Linked DNA regions of Homo sapiens: region 2 is linked to region 1. Evidence: promoter capture Hi-C in 16 types of primary human blood cells and fetal thymus (Javierre and others, 2016). All regions are on one chromosome and are shown on one strand. Each heading gives the region's core, a stretch centred on a gene start or on the middle of the fragment in contact. The rest is flanking DNA. Distances are from core to core; before and after follow the strand shown. Region 1 holds the start of KLF1 (KLF transcription factor 1). Region 2 holds the start of FARSA (phenylalanyl-tRNA synthetase subunit alpha).

Region 1 (3,611 bases), core at 863-3,362:
CTGTCTGCCCAGTCATGTCCCCGGGTCCCCTGCATCTGGCCACACCCCTTTACTCAGCCTGGGCTGGGACTAGGATGAACAAAGTGAGGCCCCTAGGGCACAAAATTTAAGGAGGCACTCACTCTCAGAGGCCAGCCAAGTCCAAGTCCCGCCCTCTGCAACCCTTCTTCCCCTGTAACTACAGCGGGCGCCGCGCCCTTTCTCATGTCCGGGGCCCCGCCCCCTCACCTGTGTGCGTGCGCAGATGCGCCTTCAGGTGGGAGCTCTTGGTGTAGCTCTTGCCGCAACCCGGGTGCGCGCACGTGTGCGCTGCCTGCCTCTTGCGCGCCCACGAACGTCGGCCTCGCTTGGATGGCGCGGTCTCGGCTATCACACCTGGATCCTCTGCAGTCCCCCCGAGTCCAGTGCCCACCGTCCCGGGTCCCAAACAACTCAGGAAGGAGGGGGACGTGGCGGGACCGGGCGCGGGTCCCTGGAGCCCGCGGAAGAGCTGGAAGTGCCCTTGGTACTGAGGCGCCGGGTACATCGCGGGGTACCCGGACAGTAGCCCGTAGGGGGCGCCCGACGCCGCAGGCACTGAAAGCCCGGTCCGCGGGAAGTAGCCACCCGAGGAGCCGGCGCCGGGCCCCGGGTACACCGGTTGCAGCGCCAGCGCCTTGGGCTCGGGGGCCGGGGCTGGAGCCAGGGCTGGGCCCACGAAGGCGTCGGGAGCCCGGGCTCGCAGGGCAGGGCGCACCCAACCCGAGTGATCCTCCGAACCCAAAAGCCCAGCCACCAGCCCCGGGCCGCCAGCATATGCGCCCAGAGTCTCGGGCGGCGGCGGATATTGCGCCCCGGAGGCCTCGCTGGGCGCCAGAGCGCAGGTCTGGGGCGCGCCACCGGGCTCCGGGCCCGAGAAGTTGGTGAGGAGGAGATCCAGGTCCCAGGTGGCGTCCGCGCCCCTCTCATCGTCCTCTTCCTCCCCGGGCTGGTCCTCAGACTTCACGTGGAGGGGCGGCTCCGTGGGGTCAGGAGGACCCGGGCCCATGTCCTGCGCCTCTTCGGAGCGCCACCACTGCGGGAGGGAGCAGGCAGCTCGAGGTTCGGTGGACACTGGGGTGCCCTGCCCAGGGACATCGCGGGCTGGACACTCTGACGCAGAGGCTTTGGAAAGGGGTCTTGTTTGCCTGTCTGTCTGTCCCACTTCCCCAACACTGCCCCTCTAACCGCCCCTCTCCCCGCTCCCCCCCCAGCTCCAGGGACAGAAACCGATCAGGTCTGGCTGGAGACAGGAGATAAGACTTCCACTATCTGGAACCACACTCGGGGATGGGGGAAGGGGTAGCAGAGCTGCTGGAGATGGAAAACTGGCAGGGGACGGGGGAGAGGATGCCAGCCTTGACTTAGTTTTCCCCCAGAACATCCCTCTCCTTCCCTGTCTCCCAAAACAAGATTAATTCCGAAATTTTGGATGTCCCCCAGACACACTCATCATTTCCCGCTGATATCTGGAAGATTGTCTGTGAGCCTAGATCTCGTTCCTTTTTTTTTTTTTTTTTCTTGAGATAGGGTCTTACTCTTTTGCCCAGGCTGGAGTGCAGTGGTGCAGCTCACTGTATCCTTAATCTCCTGGGCTCTAATGATCCTCCTGCATCAGCCTACGGAGTACCTGGGACTACAGGCACACGCCCCCATGCCTGGCCTAATGTTTTTGGTATTTTTTGTAGAGATAGGGTTTCACCATGTTGCCCAGGCTACCTTCGTTTTCTATTACCGAAATAGATCACACTTAGAACCTCAAACCCCTAGACCACCCTCCTCACCCCCTGCCAGACTAAGCTGAGATCTCCTCTCCTGGACTGAGCGTACCTCAGTCCTGGTTAAGTCTCTTGATTTCAGGTCAAGATGCAGGTCTGGACCCCAAGATCTGTGACTGTGGCCCTGGATTCCAGCCAGCCCACCTAGACCCCACCTTCTAGGCCCCACCTTGAGGAAGTCATCCTGTGTGTCCGGGAAGGGGCCCAGGGCGGTCAGTGTGCTGATGGAGGGCAAGGCGGTCTCGGCTGTGGCCATGGCTGGCTGGTGCCCACCCTGGGCCTCAAGCCTCCTCTTCCTCGGCTGCCTCGTGAACTCTGAGGCTGTGATAGCCCCTTCGAGGGCTCCTCTCTGTCCTTAGCTGATTGGCTGCAGCCTCTGATAAGGCAAAGCAAGGCAAGGCGGCGGGGGGGCACTGTTTCTGGGGCACAAACTTCACGTTGGCCTGTCTGGGGCTGGGGTTAAAGACTAACCCTGTGTCCAAAGCCAAGTCAAATATCAAGGGTTGGGGGGTTCAGGGTTTGAGGGTCCAGGTGCTGGGTAAAAACAGACATTGGGTCTCCAAAGAAGGAGAGACTTGGGGGTCTTCCCTCAGTTAACTTTCCTGGAAAAGGCAGAAAGGGTATTCTGGGAAGAAGCTGTGGGACCCCCTGTCCCCCTGATTGAGGCTCCACAGCCCTCCCCCTCCCCAGTAAACAGCAACAACCGTGCTGATGGCGGGACTTGGCACGAGCTCCCCGCCAAGCATTATCAGACACCCCAGACGTTGGAGGCTGCTATCAGGTGGGGGCCCAGGCCAGCTAGAGCTCTGTCCTCCGGTGAAGGGGAGGGCTGGGAGTTGGGTCTTCAAATTAGCCTGGCGTTCAATTTGCCTGGGTTGGGACCTCCCAGGGTCTCAGCCCTGCAGCAGGAGGAAGCCCCTGACAACTGGCCCACCATTGTCTACTGGGGACCCTTGGGTGGCACTGCATGGGACTGCATGGAGGCTGGTTCAGTGCCAGCTGCTTTAGTGCGATGGGGGCAGCCAAGGGAAAAGTGACCCTCTCTCCTCCTGGGTGGGATAGGACCGTTGGATCAAGCCACAGGCAGTACCTGACCTGCAGGAGACCAGTGCCCTGGCTCTGGGCCTGGCTGCTCCTTGATTCTGCCCAACATGAGGAGAGGATCTGAGTTTCTACAACAGGAACCTCCACTCTGGTGCCCTGGGAGCCTGGGAAGGGGACATGGATACGTATTACAGACACATAACTCATAGTCACTCATTGGAAGACTGAGGCAGGAGGATCACTTGACACCAGGATTTCAAGACCAGCCTGGGCAACATAAAACCTATCTCTCCAACAAAAAGCTGTGAGTGGTGGTGCATGCCCATAGTCCCAGCTACTCAGGAGGCTGAGGTGGGAGGATTGCCTGAGCCCAGGAGGTCGGGACTGCACTGAACTATAATCACACCACTGCAGTCCAGCCTGGGGCACAGAAAGCAAGACTCTGTCGCTGGAAAAAAAAAAAAGTTGGGTGGCCATCTTTATTCCTGGCAGATCAACCTGGGTGACACAAACAAAAACAAGGCCAGGTGCGGTGGTTCACACCTGTAACCCCAGCACTTTGGGAAGCCAAGGTGGGGAGATCACTTGAGGTCAGGAGTTCGAGACCAGACTGGCCAACAGGATGAAGCCCTCTCTCTGCTAAAAATACAAAAATTAGCTGGGCATTGTGGCACATGCTTGTAATCCCAGCTATTTGGGAGGCTGAGCTGGAGAACTGGTTGAAACTTGGAGGCATGGGGCCAGGCGCAGTAGCTCACGCTAGTAATCCCA
Region 2 (3,613 bases), core at 528-3,027, 47 kb after region 1:
GAGAAAGGTGTGATGGGTTCTACCTCAGATGATTTTAAGGAGTAGCTAAATTAATACTCAGAAAGAATATATAGTGCCTACCACGTGACAAACACTGCATAAATTTTTTTTTTTTTTTTTTTTGAGACGGAGTCTCGCTCTGTCGCCCAGGCTGGAGTGCGATCTCGGCTCACTGCAACCTCCACCTCCCGATTCAAACAATTCTCTGCCTCAGCCTCCCAAGTAGCTGGGATTACGGGTGCCCACCAACACGCCTGGCTAATTTTTTTTTGTATTTTTAGTAGAGACAGGGTTTCATCATCTTGGCCAGGCTGGTCTTGAACTCCTGACCTCGTGATCCACCCGCCTTGGTCTCCCAAAGTGCTGGGATTACAGGTGTGACCACTGCACCCGGCATAAATTCTAATTACTATAATTATTTTTATGGCTATTACTGTCATTAGATTGAACCTCACCTCCTTATATTATTTAACCCTCTGTGACGTATACAAATGTCAGATCATATTGGTCAAGGCACTGTCACCCCACACAACACAGCTGCCATCTCTCCTCTGCATTGAGGACTATGGGCTCTGCAGCCTGAGTGCCTAATTTCAAATCTGGGCTCATCGGCCTCTTCTATTCACACTGATTATGTTACTGACCATCAGTTGTCACATCTGCAAAATGGGAATAACATGGCCATCAGCCAGGATTATGGAATGGATTGGACAAACAAGCTGAGACCAAAGTGGGGCACAGAACATGAGCTCTACGGATAAACAGCCCAGATCCTGGCCCCATGGATCTAGCCTTCTGGGTGGCCCACGGGCCCCTCAGCATCCTACGCCTGTGACTCTGTCACTGTCCACTTGCCCAAGTCAGAAGGCTGGACTTCATCTGTGCGCCCCCTGCCTTGTCCTGAATCCCACGCCTTCCCCACCTCCCCCAAGCTTCCTTCCCATAGCCAGACATCATGCCCTCCAGCTTGGGGAAGTGCCAGCTTCTTCTTTCATCCCTTCACCTCCAGTCCTGTCCATGCCAATTCTTCCCAAAGGTGATGTGGATAGCACACTCATCTGACCGGCTCTAGCTCCTGCTATCGCTTCCCAGTTCCCTCATGAGGTAAAGACCTAAGAGGCTTTGCAATTACAGCTATGCTGGTCTCCCTTGCCGCCTGCCATCCCCCAAGATCCCGGCCACTGATCTCTAAAGTGCTATCACTTTCCTCAACAGAGAACAGACTCAGCCGTCACCTGCACCAGGCCGCTCTCCCTGACCCCCAAGGCTGGGTCAGCTGTCACAGCTGGGTCCCCTGTTTTCCCCCATCACTCTGGTTCTTGAAGCACCTTCCTATTACGTCGCAACCTGCGTGAGGGCAGCAACCGCGACTTCCTCGTCCATCATCGTACCCTCTACCCACGCTGACCGTGCCTCAATAAACGTTTATTGCATGAGGAACATCCGTGCGTCTGGGCCCTCACTCGTCCCACTTCCCGCCCGCACATCCCGGAGTGGACACATATACAGCTACCCCAAACTAGGCCTGAGGGAATTTGGCTTGGACGTAGAGCGCCCGTGGCAAGGGGACTGTAGGTGCAAGGGCAAGGCGGTCCGGCATCACGGGCCCGGCTCACCTCGCCCAGCGCCTGAAGGCTCTTCACGGCGCCCACCACCGCCTGGTGCTCCATGCCCAGCTCAGCCGCCAACTCGGCGCTGTCCAGGCCGCCATCAGACGCCTCCAGCCGCCGGAGCAGCAGTTCCGCCACCTGACCATCCGCCATGACTCCTTCCAGTGTGCTCAGCGTGTCCGGGCCCGGGTGGGCGGGGGGAGCTGAGCCACCGGAACCGGAACCGGAGTGTGTACCGCCATCTTGAATGTGTCTAACTGTAGAACAGGGCTCAATGTGTCGTCATCTTGAGTGTGGCGACGGAGCCGCAAAAGGTGCATGGGACTCAGTTCCCACCTCCACCCTGGCTCCATCAATGGCGTCTGGTTGACCAGAGGGGTAAAATTGATTATCTCAAGGTCAGAAGCACCGCCCTGTTTTGAGTTTTATCTAGCCTCACTTCGAGCGGGCTGTGTGACCTTGGACTTCCCCGTCTCTGGGTTACAGAACCCTCTGCCCTTCTGGTATTCTCTCTTGCCCTAGGAGAGGCGGTGGGTGGTGGGCTCCAGAGATGGTCATTTTGGCGATGTCAGCTACTTTTAAAATTTCAAAGGAAGGCTGGGTAGGTACCGTCCCTTTTTATAGAGGGAAAAGGAATTCACCTAGTAAGTCAAGGTGGCACCTAACCTGTGTGGACTACCTCGTATGTGGTAGTACTTAGCCCAGAACTGAGTACTTCACGTGTAGTATTTCATTTATCCCCAAAACTTTATGATGTAGATACTGATATAACCGCATTACACATGTGAGAAAACTGAGGCTCAGAGGGTGGTATGACTTGCCCAAGGTTCTACAGAGAGTTGGTGGAAATGAAGTCATAAATTATAAACCTTCCAGATCCTCCCACCCCTGTGCGCTGAGAGTAACGTCAGTGCAAATACTGCATGGCCTAGATTAGCACTGTCCTATAGAAACACAGTGCAAAACATCTTTCTTTTTTGAGACAGGGTCTTGCTCTGTCACCCATGCTGGAGTGCAGTGGTGCAATTATGGCTTACTGCAGCCTTGACTTCCCAGGCTCTAAGGATCCTCCAACCTTAGGCTCCTGAGTAGCTGGAACTGCAGGTGCGCGCCACCACACCCAGCTTTTTTTTTTTTTTTAAGTATGGGTTTTGGCCATGTTGCCCAGGCTGGTCTCAAACTCCTAGGCTCAGGTTATCCTCCTGCATCGGTCTCCCAAAATGCTGGCATTAGAGGCATGACCCACCTCGCCCAGCCAGCCAGACCCTGACTCTTACAAAAAAAAAGATGACTAATAAAATATTTTGCACTCGGCCGGGCACAGTGGCTCACCTCTGTAATCCCAGCACTTTGGGAGGCCGAGGCGGGTGGATCACCTGAGGTCGGGAGTTTGAGACCAGCCTGACCAACATGGAGAAACCCCGTCTCTACTAAAAATACAAAATTAGCAGGGCGTGGTGGCGCATGCCTGTAATCTCAGCTACTTGGGAGGCTGAGGCAGGAGAGTCGCTTGAACCTGGGAGGCAGAGGTTGTGGTGAGCCGAGATCGTGTCATTGCACTCCAGCCTGGGTGACAAGGCGAAACTCCGTCTCAAAAAAAAAAAAATTGCACTTTTTTTCATACTAAATCTTCAAAATCTGATGCGTATTTTACACTTACAACACATCTCAGTTCGGACCAACCACATTTCAAATGGTCAGTAATCACATGTGGGCAGTGGTGACTTACGTCAGCACAGGTAGATTAGAATCCTAGATCTGCTGGCCAGGCTCAGTAATCCCAGCACTTTGGGAGGCTGAGGCGGGTGAATCACCTGAGGTCAGGAGTTCAAGACCAGCTTGGCCAAGATGGCGAAACCCCATCTCCTCTAAAAACACAAAAATTAGCTGGGTGCAGTGGGGGTGCCTGTAATCCCAGCTACACGGGAAGCTGAGGCAGGAGAATCACTTGAGCCTGGTAGGTGGAGCTTGCAGTGAGCAGAGATCGCACCACTGCACTCCAG

The links. The method cuts DNA at HindIII sites, captures the fragments that hold promoters and counts their contacts. A CHiCAGO score of 5 or more calls a contact.
Region 2: the fragment with the promoter of FARSA here is called in contact with the fragment with the promoter of KLF1 in region 1 in 3 of 17 cell types (erythroblasts, megakaryocytes and M1 macrophages); the score reaches 8.0 in erythroblasts.

Annotation. Positions count from the first base shown.
Region 1 is chr19:12,885,089-12,888,699 of GRCh38, forward strand. It overlaps KLF1 (KLF transcription factor 1), which reads right to left and starts at 2,113. Exons shown (of 3, transcript NM_006563.5): 1 at 1,966-2,113; 2 at 229-1,054. The coding sequence starts at 2,052. RefSeq lists enhancers at 1-398, 296-385, 1,143-1,404, 1,968-2,308, 2,417-2,755, cis regulatory regions at 1-423, 1,003-2,843, a silencer at 536-795 and a promoter at 2,047-3,065. The HindIII fragment of the contact is 12,769 bases long and covers 1-3,611 here.
Region 2 is chr19:12,931,934-12,935,546 of GRCh38, forward strand. FARSA (phenylalanyl-tRNA synthetase subunit alpha) reads right to left here and starts at 1,778. Exons shown (of 13, transcript NM_004461.3): 1 at 1,617-1,778. The coding sequence starts at 1,763. FARSA-AS1 (FARSA antisense RNA 1) reads left to right here. Exons shown (of 3, transcript NR_149078.1): 2 at 1,037-1,104; 3 at 1,216-1,363. RefSeq lists enhancers at 1,381-1,450, 1,461-1,960, 1,682-1,976 and a silencer at 3,013-3,118. The HindIII fragment of the contact is 14,863 bases long and covers 931-3,613 here.